3 separate regions of the Homo sapiens genome follow, and regions 2 and 3 are each linked to region 1. Evidence: promoter capture Hi-C in 16 types of primary human blood cells and fetal thymus (Javierre and others, 2016). All regions are on one chromosome and are shown on one strand. Each heading gives the region's core, a stretch centred on a gene start or on the middle of the fragment in contact. The rest is flanking DNA. Distances are from core to core; before and after follow the strand shown. Region 1 holds the start of ZC2HC1A (zinc finger C2HC-type containing 1A). Region 2 overlaps LOC105375911 (a long non-coding RNA gene). Region 3 overlaps MITA1 (metabolism induced tumor activator 1).

Region 1 (4,275 bases), core at 616-3,115:
CGCTTGGGTTTACACTTGAGGCAGCTATAATAAAAGGCAAGGCAAGGAAAGGGAGTGAGGAGCCCAATCAAATCACCATAGGCTTTAGAATTTAACAGACAAGAGTGTAGCCAAGCTCTACCATCCACTAATAATACAAATATTGACAAAATATTAATTGCTCTGAGACATCTAGAAAATGAACATTTTAATTCTGATAAATGAAGATTGTAGTATCTACTTTGTAGATTTCTTTTGAAGATTTGTGAATATATGAAAATGGCCTAAAACATGCCTCACATGATTTATTCTTTAATGCTATTTTTATTATTTTTAATGTTACTGTAGATTTTATGTCGAATAAGGTATCAGCCAACTCAATATTCGTCTTGCCTTCAGTGAAAGAACTTGTAATTTGTAAAATAATGGCTTCCTTATTTTTGTATTTTCTTCTGTGTGCTTTTTTTTCTCCTTAATGCTCTTTTAAAAGGCCTTCCCTCCCAACCAAAAATTCTACCTTTGCCTTAGTAGCACTAAGGAAGAAAAAGGACCTTTCCGCAGCACCCAGTCTAGAGTAGCTTATTGCCTGCAAGGCTATGGGTTGGCCAAGGAGGCCCAGGATCTCAGAGAAGCAGAAGAGCCAGGGGAACCAGGGAAGGGCGGAGGGAGTCATTGAGGCATGGTTGAAGTGGTCTTTACATGGCTCCACACAACAGATGGACTCTACCACATTCAAATGCACTTGGAGCACCTTCTCAGTAAGAGATGATGCCCCCTCAAGTGTTTGCTTGTTTAAACATACCTTCATGTGAGTGGAGAGTAGGAGGAATCCTGCTTCCTGAAGGTAACTGATTTCATAGTAGATGAAGTTAGATATGAAGTTAAACTCTTCAATTAAACAGATTAACAATAACATTAATCCGAGGTTTGTTATGGACAACACATTAATACTGGTAACTTGCCAGTAGATACGCTATAGTCAGCAAACAGTACAGCTTGTTTACGATTGCTAAATCAAATTTTCAAAGAAATGTAGTTCTGGTAATTGTAAGCAAAACCGTTAAAATGGTCTGAGTTAGTTTTGAAGTTACTTTCATCTTCAGGAGGTTTTGAACTCTGTTAGAGACGGGCGGGCCTCATTCTGTCAGGTTGTAGGTTAATTCCCCAACTCAAACTTCCCCGATCAAACATTGTCAGGCCAGGCGACTGTTTTGGTTTATGGATGATAAAGTATAGGGCCAAGGTAGGCCAAGAGTAGAAGACAGAGGGAGGGCTGGGTTTCACTTCTAATTTTTGGCCCAAGCTTTCATGGTGAGGAAACTGTTTTCAAGGGCTTAGAGCAATCGCAGTTCCACAATCGCAGATAGAAAGTATGATTTCTCTGGAAAAAAAGTGTCTTAACCTATGAAGCTGTGTGTGAAGATCAAGTGTAGGGGATACGCTGAGGTCAAGTCATGCGACCAAAGACCGGAAAACGGAGATTGCTGCATGCAAGCGTGCTGGGCGTTTGTTTGGTTTGCTTGCCTGCTTAAAGTATCCACTGGGAGGGATGGCGGCTAGAAGTCAGAGGCATTGACTGATTGAGGAACTGGTGAAGCGGAGCCCATGAGGTGCTGAGGTACTCTAAATAGGAGGATAAGGTATGAGGCAAAACAAGGCTGGAGTCAAACAAAGGCGCCGTTGCATCGCAGATTGCAACCTGAAGCGGCTCCCGGCTCCCTGGAGAGTAACCCGGAGAGACGGACAGGGGTGGCAGCCAGGAGGAGACCGCAGGAACCTCGCCTCCGCCGCGGCCCCGCCCCCACGGATCCCCGCCCCCGCAGTTGCGGAACCAATGGGAGCTCGGAATGTTAGCGGGTGGGAGGTGCGGCTGGGTTGCTACAGCCAGAGCTGGGCGGTGGCGGGCGCTGCTGAAGGAGTCTCGCTGAGCTCGAGGAGGTGGCGCGATGGAGGGACTGGAAGGTGAGGCGATGAAGGGATGAGGGCAGGACGGCTAGAGCGGGCCCGAAACAGCTGGGGACCCTGGACACCAGTAGCAGGAAGGCGAGGGCTGGTTCGGTGCGGCGGACCTCGCCGCGTCCCGCCGCGCCTCCGGAGGCTGGGGCCGAAGGGAACCGGACAGTCCCCGATGCGGTGGAGCTAACGCTACCAGGCTGCCCCGCCTCAGACGGTCTTCAACTGGGCTTTCCCGCCCGGAGCCAGATCCTGCCCCTGGCAAGACGCCTGCACGTCTCTTCCTACCATTTTCTGATCTTGCTTGACTCCTGAGTGCCCTTTTAGTGATCCCAGTCTCTGGCCAGATTTTGTTTTCCTTGTACTGGACTCTCTCCATTATTGTCCACGGCCTTAACACCAACAGGCCACTTTGTGCTGCAGCCCCGGGGTGTGTCTCCAGCCTCGAGCTCCTGACATTCCTTGGCCGATTTCCCTAGGTAACCGGCTTTTTACATTTCGACAGCATCTTCTGTCGGAGGGATGTCAGAGCATCTCCTAAGGAAGTGTCACTGGCCAGCTTTAGAGCCGGTACAATAGATTACCCGGAGGATTTGATGACTTATTCACGGCCGCTGTGTGAGGAAGAGCCTGTATTGGTTCCTTATCTTTGGGTTTATCTTTGTACTGTAACCATGACTCCAGATTTTGCTTTGTTCCCAGTTCTTTCACTTTTTCTCTATTCTGTTTACCCATTTTATCCTGTGTAATGAAAGCATTCACCTAAAAACAAAGGAAGGACAAAAACCACAATAACTAGCATTGGCAACAACAGTTTCAAGATTTTTTAATTTGTTATGATGAAGAACAAACCTTCAGAATTGAAAGATCCTATTGTCTTGATTTAGCTCCTTTCCCCCGTCTCCTAGTTTACACGGATTCAGTTGGAATTAAGAATGAGCAGAAGCTTTTGAGTCTTGTGTATTGTTGCATGCCAGGGAGTAAAATATTCTACATTGTGTGATGAAGTGCAAAGTGGTAGCCGGTAACTTTTTCAGTCACCTATTCACCAAAAAGCAGATGTAATAACATGAGTAGAAGTTTATTTCGTGCTTTTGCTCTGATAAATGATTCTGATAATTTTCCGTTTGTGGACAGCTGCAGTATGCTATGGCCTAATGAAGGTCTTGTTTTTTGCTTATGTGTTTTTGGAAGATAATTCAAGTTTCCATGAAATAAGGAATTGTAATGATAGTACAGTATATTTTACTTTCAAGATACTTTTGTATCTTGGTGGGATTAAAGCATGGGTTATGGAATTCTCATGAGATTATCATATATAATATGATAAGGTTTTATTACATATTATCTATAAAGTGTTTTGAACAGTTTGCAGATTTTTATTATTTTATTCAACATTTGTTATTAAGACAAAGATCATCATCTGATTTTTCACTTATGTATCCTAGGCACCTAAAACAATGTCTGACACAAAGTAGGTACTCAATAAATATTTGTTGTTAAATAAATGTCTATTATGGGCATCTTTTTAGGTTCTAGGTTGCAGCAAAGAATAAAAATGATAAAGCTTTACTCTCATCGAACCTACATTTTAGTGGACCTTACATTTTAACAGTGCTAAGATATTACTATTGAAACCTTACTACGAATGTTTTTAAAATATAATGGAAACCTATTATGACACTCAGTTGCATAGGTGGACAAAGGTAGGATTCTGTATTTATAGGCATATTTTATGGGTCCAGCTTATGATGTTATAGGGCCCAGCTTATGATGTTAATAGTGCTTGCCCTTTACTTTTAGATTTTTTTTTTTTACAAAATAAGATGCTATCATTAACTATAATGTGTTTAATTGTGATAAACTGAGTTGAAATATGTGAAGTTGCCCTAAATTATGTAGGGCAAAACAGTTGAATTCTGGTAATTTCAAGCAGTTCAATCTAATAAAAGCTCTTGAGAATTTTCTGTTGAAGTTAGGATGGTGCCTTTCTCTCCTTCCTCCTTCTCCCCTCTCCCTCCCCTAAGAGATCACACCTTGCAAATATCAAACTCTGAGTCTTAAGGTTACCGTTCATTAATTCATCCATTCTTTCATTCTAGAAACATTGATACAGTGATAGATTAGGTAGTTTCTTACCTCTATTGGAAGTTAAAGTCTAGTACTTTGAAGGTGTTTAATAAATATTATATTGCAGTATCCAGTAAGAAATATTCAAAAGTTTGCTTAATGTGTCAGAGTAATTGCGTAAATATTGTACTCTGGCATTAGACATATGTTTCTAGTTGAAACCAGTTACCAGACATTAATCTTGGCTATAAAACAAGAAAATATATGGACTCT
Region 2 (4,275 bases), core at 1,062-3,561, 190 kb before region 1:
GATACAAATCAGCTAAGAAGTCACTTTTAGGCCGGGCGTGGTGGCTTACATCTGTAATCCCTGCACTTTGGGAGGCCGAGGCAGGCGAATCATCTGAGGTCAGGAGCTCGAGACCAGCCTAGCTAACATGGTGAAACCCCATTTCTACTAAAAATACAAAGAATTAGCTAGGCATGATGGCACGTGCCTGTAATCCCAGCTACTCGGGAGGCTGAGGCAGGAGAATCGCTTGAACCCAGGAGAAGGAGGTTGAAATTAGCTGAGCTTGCTCCATTGCACTCCAGCTTGGGCAACAACAGCGAAACTCCATCTCAAAAAAAAAAAAAAGTCATTTTTTAAAGTTAACTAAAAAAGAAATAACACTGGAAACCCATGAAATGAAAAGTATCACTTGAAACTGGTTAGGCTAAAAAGGAATAACATAAAGTTGGAATGAATAACTATACATTTAGGAACATCACTATTTCCTTAGAGCCTAATATATTTTATTATCTTTCTCATTTTCTTTTTCAAAATTCAAAGTATTATGTACAACATGAATTTTAGGATTGTTTAACTATAACTACACACCTATGTATATTTTTGAAATAGAACTCTGATCAATTTTGAATTTTCAGTTTCAAAATCTGAAAATTGAGGAAACAAAAAATGAATAAAATATTCAATATGGTTGTCTAGACCAAAATTCATGCCTTCTTTTTAACCTAAATAATGCATAACAGAACTGAGAAAAATGTCTGTTTAGCAAAGCACATACTATCATCACTATAATATTAGGAACAAATTATAAATACGGTGATGATAAATTTTAAATGAAATTATTTTCATCAGACATCTTAACACCTAGAAGTCATACTTCATTTAATATATATACTTATATATAGATAATATATATACATTATATATATATAAAGAACAATGCCTATCACTATATTTGAAGTTAATGAAAAAATACAAAATAAATGCTCATTAGGTTTAGCCCTTAATGTCACTAAACAGATGGCTCTAACTGCTGTTCCCACTTTAATGACAGCATAATCTGGAATCTAAAGGTCATACCAGGTATAGGTCACCTCTGGACACTCTCTACATCTTAAAAGTAAGTCAGCCATTTCTTCTAACTTTCCTTTCCAAGGGACAGATTAACAAGAATCTATTTCATTTAATATGGCTTCTTAAAGACAGCTTTAGCAGAACAAAAGTACTTTTTTTCTAAGTAAAACTTCACGGTCTCTATTTACTTTTAACCAAAGAAACCATTTCTCTCTATTTAATTACTATTAATATGTCATTTTTCCCTCCTTCAAGGCTCAGCTTAAGTATTGCCTCTTAAATTTTATTATCCTATTTTAACCATGATGCATAATTCTGTTTTATAAATTTGTGTAGCACTTATTTTATTCATATTGCTATATAATTATACAAATTTATTAGAGAAAAGGAAGATATTCAATTTTTCTATATTCTGTATGGCAAATGCAAGAATAGCAGGCATATAGTAGAGAATAGTTATTTATTAAATTAAATTAAGAGAAATGTTTTTTTTTTTTTTTGGAATACTCTAGCTACTGGAAGTCCTCCATGCATGCTAGAATAATCATGACTCCAATATCTATCTTCTACACATATTTCCTCTGCCCTTATTATCCTACCCTGTACCCGCAAACAAAACCTCATCTACTTGCCAAAGCTTTGTTCATCTTTCAAGGCTTCACTGGGTTACCTGATAACCAGCTCAATTAATGAAATGAAAGGGCGTTCTGGAGTATGGGTATATTTGTCTGATTTGGCTGCCATAACAAAATTCCATAGGTTGAGTGACTTAAACAACAGAAATTTATCTTCTCAGGATCTGGAGGTTGGAAGTGCAAGATCAGTGTGCCCAACTTAGTTAGATTCTGGCTTGCAGATTCTCTTCCTGGCTTGCAGATGGCCAGCTTCTTTCTATGTGCTCAAATGGCCTTTCCTGGTTTATTTTCATAAGGGCACTAACACCATCATAAAAGCCTGACCTTCGTGATCTTGTTTAATCCTAATTACTTTCCAAAGGGCCCATCTCCAAATACCATTACATTGGGGATTAGGGTTTCAACATACAAATTTTGAAGGGACACAAACATTCAGTCTATAATAATTGGAAAAAACAAAGACTTTGGATTAGCTGGGCCTGGGTTTAAATCTTGTTCTACTATTTCAGACATATGTGACTTTGGCTGACTTATACTCAGAGACTCTGTTATCTGTGAATGGAGACTATCAATACTAACTTCATAATTATAATAATCACAACCATCATGATAATTTTTGAGCATTTACTATAGTTTTTTACTATATAGCATTCACTAATAGTTTTTTCAATGACTCTATAAGTATTAAATTATTTAATTATCTGAATAATCCTATGAGGCAAATGATATTGTTAGCATGATTTTATATTGGGAAACTAATATGGAAAAGAGCATAAATTACCTCACAGATCTGATATAAATATTAAATAAATATGTAAAATACCCAGTATATAGTGAAATGTATAGTTCCATCCCTTTTACATATGCAACAAGCTGTCAAAGAAATAAAAATACTAAGTATTTATATCATCAAAGAAAGAACCGTTATGACTGGCATACTTTAGCAATTCACATTATCATCCCCTAAAAATACCAACTTGTCTTTAAAAACTGCCCAAAAGGACTTAATCACAACACATTTTTAGTTTTAAGCAAACAAATAATGTAGTAGCAAGAGGGATTTGAGTTTTTCTTCCATTTTCCATGATCTTAAACATCAAAAGTTATCAGTGTCAATCCTTATCAATTTAAAGTGTTCTCCATCCAATAGTTCCTCCTAATAATTCTTGCCATTTGAAACAATACTTAATTAGAAACAACATATAATACCAATATTAGAATATCCCTGCTTTATTTATATGTTTAAAGCTTCCATGTTGATCCAGAAGCAAATTATCCTTATGATTGCCAATCTAAAAAGAAGAGATGGAAAAGGATATTTGCTAAAAATGTTTTGAAAAAACATTTTTAAATTCAAGGCAATGGTTTATATGTTTAAGGACTTGCCTACCCCAATGTATTTTCTTTAAGTTTATGTTATTTCTTTACATATTCAGATATGCTTCTTCAGAATGCTAGTAGCATATTAATTTCATAAAGTAGATTAGAACTTCATGATCTTGGTTGCACATCAGAATCTCTAAGAATCTTTCAAAAAATGCCCATGTTCAGGCCTTACTCTTCAACAATTGATTTAAAATATCTGTAGGTAGAGTCTGGATATGAGTATTTTATAAAAATATTTTAGTTGAATTTGATGTGCAATGATTAAGGTAAATGTTCAAGTCAACAACACTCATATGCATTGATATCCATGACGAAGCACTTTTCAGATTACGCAAACCACTAAATCTTGGCTTAAATAACAGAAATAAATAATATAGTCGCAAAAGTTTCCCTGTAATAAAATCAGAATCCTGACAGAAAGTAGGACCAAGAGGCTTAATATGGTAATAAACTTGGCAGATATATCTAAGAATCCTGTGCCACAAGATTTTAACTTTCTGAGATACTTTTCCACTTGCTAGGGGAAAACAGCCTCCTTTTTCCTAGTCAATATATAATTTTGTCCTTTTCTTAAATCACCTGAACTATTCAGGGCTTCCAGGCAATACACAGGAATAAACACCTAGAGAAATAATGTCCCCACTAAGAAAAAAAGTACTTTACTTTTTACTTTTTTATGCGATTTGGCATATAAAAAGCTTATATGTATGGGTAAAATCTTAACTTACCCTGAAGTGGATCCTAATACAATGCAGAAATGGCTTCTTAAAGTTTGAACATGTAATTCAAATGATATGATATGATATGGTAGAACAAATGATATAATATGGTAGAACAAATGATATGATATGGTAGAACTGGCTTGGCAGATAACTGAGGGAGGTGTTGGAAGGCTTAAGATGAGGGAGAAGTTAAAATAAATATAGTACATGAGAACAGAAAATCTTCCACACAACTATAATCACCAGGGCATCCCCAGGTGTGTTCTTTTCATTAAGACAAAAAGGGGCACAGGGGTAATTGAGAAACTCAGTACAGGTTGTCTTTTCATGATAGAGCTGGCAGTAGACAATGCTGAAATGTTTCTGGGTCCTTCATATGAAAGAGGATGATAGAGGTATTGATTAGAGACCTTATGGTGACATGTAATTATCAGAGACAATGTGAATATAATACACCACAACAGGAAGCAAAGCCAGAG
Region 3 (4,275 bases), core at 1,192-3,691, 180 kb after region 1:
AGTGAGGATATTAGGAAGAGGCCAGATCCTATGATTATTTGAAGGTAGGGTAACCAGAATTTGTTATTAGATTGGATGTAGGGTGTGAAGAACAAGGGGGAGTCAAGGATTAGTCCAAGGTTTTATATGTCAGCACCTGAGTGATGATAATTTTATTAACGGAGATGAGAAAGGGGAGCGGCATTTGGGAGAGAAGAAAATGTTTGTTTGGATATGTTCATCCAACGTGTAGGTGTCATTTTAGACCTTCAGGTATATGGATGTGGCATTCAGAGGAGAATTGTGAGCTACAGATAGAAATTTGAAGGTTGTCTGTGACTGGGTGATGTTGAAAACTATGAGTCAGGATAAAATGACCAATGCAGTGAAAGTAATTAGAGGAGAAGCTAAAGGACCGAGCTGTGGCGCACTTGGGCATTAAAAGGTCTAGGAGAAGAGGAAGGGCTTACACCGGAAACTGAATAGAAATAACCAGTAGGAGAGGAAGAAAATAAGGAGCTTGTCTTGAAAGCCAAGTAATGAGCCATTTTAAATGTTTCTAGGTAATCAAATAAGGTGAAAGCTAAGAACCTGCCAGTGGTTTAGCAATATGGAGGTCACTGAAGACTTTGATCTAGCCATGGTTCAGCAGAGTGACAGGAGTAGGAGAAAGGGAGGATATGAAGGTACAAGGAGCAGAGAAATGAATGTGTTTCATTTAAAAAATTAGTTTCAGCTGGGCAAGGTGGCTCACGCCTGTGATCCTAGCACTTTGGGAGGCCAAGGAGGGCGGATCACCAGAGGTCAGGAGTTCGAGATGAGCCTGGCCAACATGGTGAAACCCCATCTCTACTAAAAATACAAAATTAGCTGGGCCTGGTGGCGTGCACCTGTAATCCCAGCTACTCGGGAGCCCGAGGCAAGAGAATCACTTGAACCTGGGAGATGGAGGTTGCAGTGAGCCAAGTTCGTGTCATTGCACTACAGCCTGGGCAAAAACAGTGAAACTCCACCTCAAAAAAAAAAAAGAAAGAAAGAAAGAAAGAAAGAAAGAAAAAAGTGTTTCATATGGTAGAAGTAACAGTACACTTGTATGCTGATGGAAATGATAACATATAGAGATGGGGAAATTGATGTTGCAGGAGAAAGAAGAGAGATTTGGGGAGCTGGTTCCTTGAATAGGTTAACCGTAACCTAAGGCAACATAGTGAATAATTGAGGAGTTGCCCTTGGGTAAGAATGCAGGCAGTTTATCTATAACAAAGGAAAACAGAGTGAAGGTAGTTACTAGGTGCAAATATAATGATGAGAGCTTGTTAGAGTGTCTTCTGTTGCTTCAGTTTATTTATATATATTTTTTTGAACAAAGTAGAAAGCAGAGCCATTGGGTGAGAGTGACAATAGAAGAGGTGTTGAGCATGAGGAGGGAGAAAGACATTTATGAAAATAGTCATCCAGAGAATGGATTAGATAATCAGCACATGCAAGTAATGTAGAGGTGGGGCTGCATGACGGGTGTCCTTCTGACCATTGTTGCTCAGGGTAGTTCAGTACTTCCAGGCTGGTCAAAAATTAGTAGAGTTCTGCTCTTAGTCTCTCTCCTCTTCTGCCTCTGCTTCCCAAGGAGTTCAGCCAGAACCTCTGTCTCTTTCCCTGCCTAAACTGAGCTGCTTGCACTCCTGTGATTTATATACCATCCTTGTCTCCAGTTGTTCACACTTTGTAACTTACTGTTATTAGTTATTATATTAAAAATTAATGCTGTCCATGGAGGTTATGATTGGCTAAGCTTGGATATATAACTAGATTTAAAAGAAGGAACTGTTATCTCTGAATCAAGTTTGTGGATTGGAATTATGGAAACATGATTATAAGTTAATGTAACCATTTTAAAATAAGCAATAGATAGCATCTGGCCATAAAGACCTTTTATTCTGGATATTTAATGAATGGGCAAGAAGGATATATACTTTTGTGAATGTGTAGGAAATGTCTTCTTTACATATTTCTGTTCTTTGGTGAACAGGAAAGAAAGTGAGGGCTAGAGGAGCCCCCAGAAAGTGGAGCATTTTCCCATTTTTACTTATATCAACTTAGCAGAAAATAAATGCCTTATGGCTGTAGCGGAATAGTCAGTACCAGATGAGCGAAGCTAAATGCAAGAATTTGCAGTGCCAAGCTCCACCGAATCCCTAAACAGCCACTGACCGATCTTGATTCCAAGTTCAACGTATTAGTGTGAGTTGAATGAGTGTTTCATTAATACTCTAAAATCTAAGTCAAATTGAACAAAGATCATGAATAGCTAAGAATTACTCTTGTAAGTATAATGAGGAGTAGAACGGGTAAGAGAAGTCAGGAAAAAATAAAGAAACTGTGGACTCAAAGTCAGAAGTCCTGAGTTTTAAACATGGTTTTGCCATTGACTAGAAACCTTAAACAAATCCTGTAACCAGTAAAGCCCTGAACTTCTTATTTGAAAATGCAGGCTTGAGTTAGATGTCTTCTAAAGACTCTTTTAGCACTAAAAAGTAATTCTATGAAGTTAATCTTTATTAAATTGTCTTATCTATTAAAATATAATGATAAAATATCTTGATGTTTATCTTAATGTATTTAGTTTTTTAGTTTTTAAAGAAAATAGGTCTTTAGTTTTTGATAATTAATATGTTTTGTTTTTGTTAATAAAATTAACACTTTAAAAAAATACAGAAATCTAAACAATAAGAAAGTGAAGGAAGAAAGCACATCCAGTCCTATGTCTCCCTAGTAATGTTTGATGTTTGTAAGGCTACCATATAACAGTTGCTATTGTGAATGAAATATCTTTGTTTTATTTTAACTAGTTGTTTCCTTATTATAGAAAAGCTACCTTTAAAAATACTAATTTCTCAACTGATTGTCTTTGCTGAACTCTCTAAGTTACTTTTAGTCAATATTCTTGTTTTCTTTATGTAGCAAACTATTTTGTCTACAAATAAAATTTAACAAATTTTGAGTCTTTATCATATAATGCCTCCTTTTGATTGTTTATACTTAATATTCTTAGAAAACATTTTTCAGTGATTCCTTTGGCTAGCTTTCCTAGAAGAATATTATTAGTAATGGTGAGAGAGAAAATTTCTGGCTGTTAGTTTAAGCTTTTTTTTTCTTTAAAAAATATGCTAAAGGTCTTTATTAAGAAGTTTTAAAAAAAGTTGAATAGGCATTTGATGACTTTTTAGAACATATGGTGACTACAGATTCTTTTCCTCAGTCTATTTGTGGGAGAAATTATATTAACAAATCTTTTAGCATTAAACCATTTTTATGTTCTGCAATGAACATCAGTTGGTCATTAATAGAATTTCAGTACAGCAATGGATTACAAATATTAACATCTTATTACTAATTTTTGCTGTTAAATTTATGTTGAAATGGGTCTGGGGTTTTATTATTTGTAGGTTGTTTTGGTTGAGTTTTGCTTCGGGGTTACATGAATTTTGTATAAAATCATGTGAAGCCTTCCTTCTTCCTCTGAGCTCATAGAAGTAAACTCTTCCCTGAAATCTGAAAGAATTCTTCTACAACATTTTGTTGTTCTATAATAGCTCTGTCAGTTTTCTTTTATTATTGATTTATTTTGGTCCACTTATATTTTTCCACAAAAAAATGTCTTTCAAACAGATTTTTAAACTTATATGAACAGGGTTGAATACTTTACACAGAGTTAATAACTTTCCTGGGAACTTGAAAAATGGAGAATTATCTGTATATGATAGCTTATATTATTGTACAGCTTTATAATTACCTTGACACTACAGTTTCTCCTTAAAATTTTATCCTCTTTCCTGAAATAAATCTATTTGCAAAGAATACGCCTAATCTATGTTTCACATGCTGTGCTTTCTGCCATATTTTTAAAACATTTTTTTTTTTTGCTTGTACTCATCTTTGAATAAAGACTGTACAAGACAGCTTTTGTTCCTAAAATAACATGGATAGATCATTCATGGTTTCTCCTGTTTACCTGGCTGCCATTTTAATTCATCCTTCAAATTTAAATATAAATTCAGTCATGCTGCACCTGGGCAGGTAGGAAAAGAGCTATGGCCATGCAAAGCTTTATTTCTGCATTTTTTCTCTATATATTTGCTAGGAAAGAATGCACCAAATTTCAGTTCTAGTGTGTTGTGTGAGATCTAGTGTGTGTGGGTTGGTGGAGGGAGCTAGGAGGAGAAGAGGGGAGTGGGTTGTGTGTGGCCTGCGTTGAAGGTACTAAGGAGTATGCCTTTGATTTTGGATTATTCAGGTATG

The links. Contacts are between HindIII fragments. The CHiCAGO score rates a contact against its expected background, and 5 or more counts as called.
Region 2: a fragment that was not itself captured here is called in contact with the fragment with the promoter of ZC2HC1A in region 1 in 3 of 17 cell types (activated CD4 T cells, non-activated CD4 T cells and fetal thymus); the score reaches 7.2 in activated CD4 T cells.
Region 3: a contact is called between a fragment that was not itself captured here and the fragment with the promoter of ZC2HC1A in region 1, in 2 of 17 cell types (total B cells and naive B cells). The highest score is 5.9, in total B cells.

Annotation. Positions count from the first base shown.
Region 1 is chr8:78,664,224-78,668,498 of GRCh38, forward strand. It overlaps ZC2HC1A (zinc finger C2HC-type containing 1A), which reads left to right and starts at 1,866. Exons shown (of 9, transcript NM_016010.3): 1 at 1,866-1,941. The coding sequence starts at 1,926. It overlaps LOC105375911 (a long non-coding RNA gene), which reads right to left and starts at 1,756. Exons shown (of 4, transcript XR_007060972.1): 1 at 782-1,756. RefSeq lists enhancers at 989-1,497, 1,498-2,005, 1,970-2,019 and a silencer at 1,680-1,899. The HindIII fragment of the contact is 1,596 bases long and covers 1,281-2,876 here.
Region 2 is chr8:78,474,379-78,478,653 of GRCh38, forward strand. The region is part of intron 2 of LOC105375911 (a long non-coding RNA gene); the gene reads right to left. Among named protein-coding and RNA genes, the nearest start is that of PKIA, 40 kb to the right of the region's middle. The HindIII fragment of the contact is 1,246 bases long and covers 1,689-2,934 here.
Region 3 is chr8:78,842,820-78,847,094 of GRCh38, forward strand. All of the region lies in intron 1 of MITA1 (metabolism induced tumor activator 1), which reads left to right. Among named protein-coding and RNA genes, the nearest start is that of LINC02605, 7.4 kb to the left of the region's middle. The HindIII fragment of the contact is 1,351 bases long and covers 1,767-3,117 here.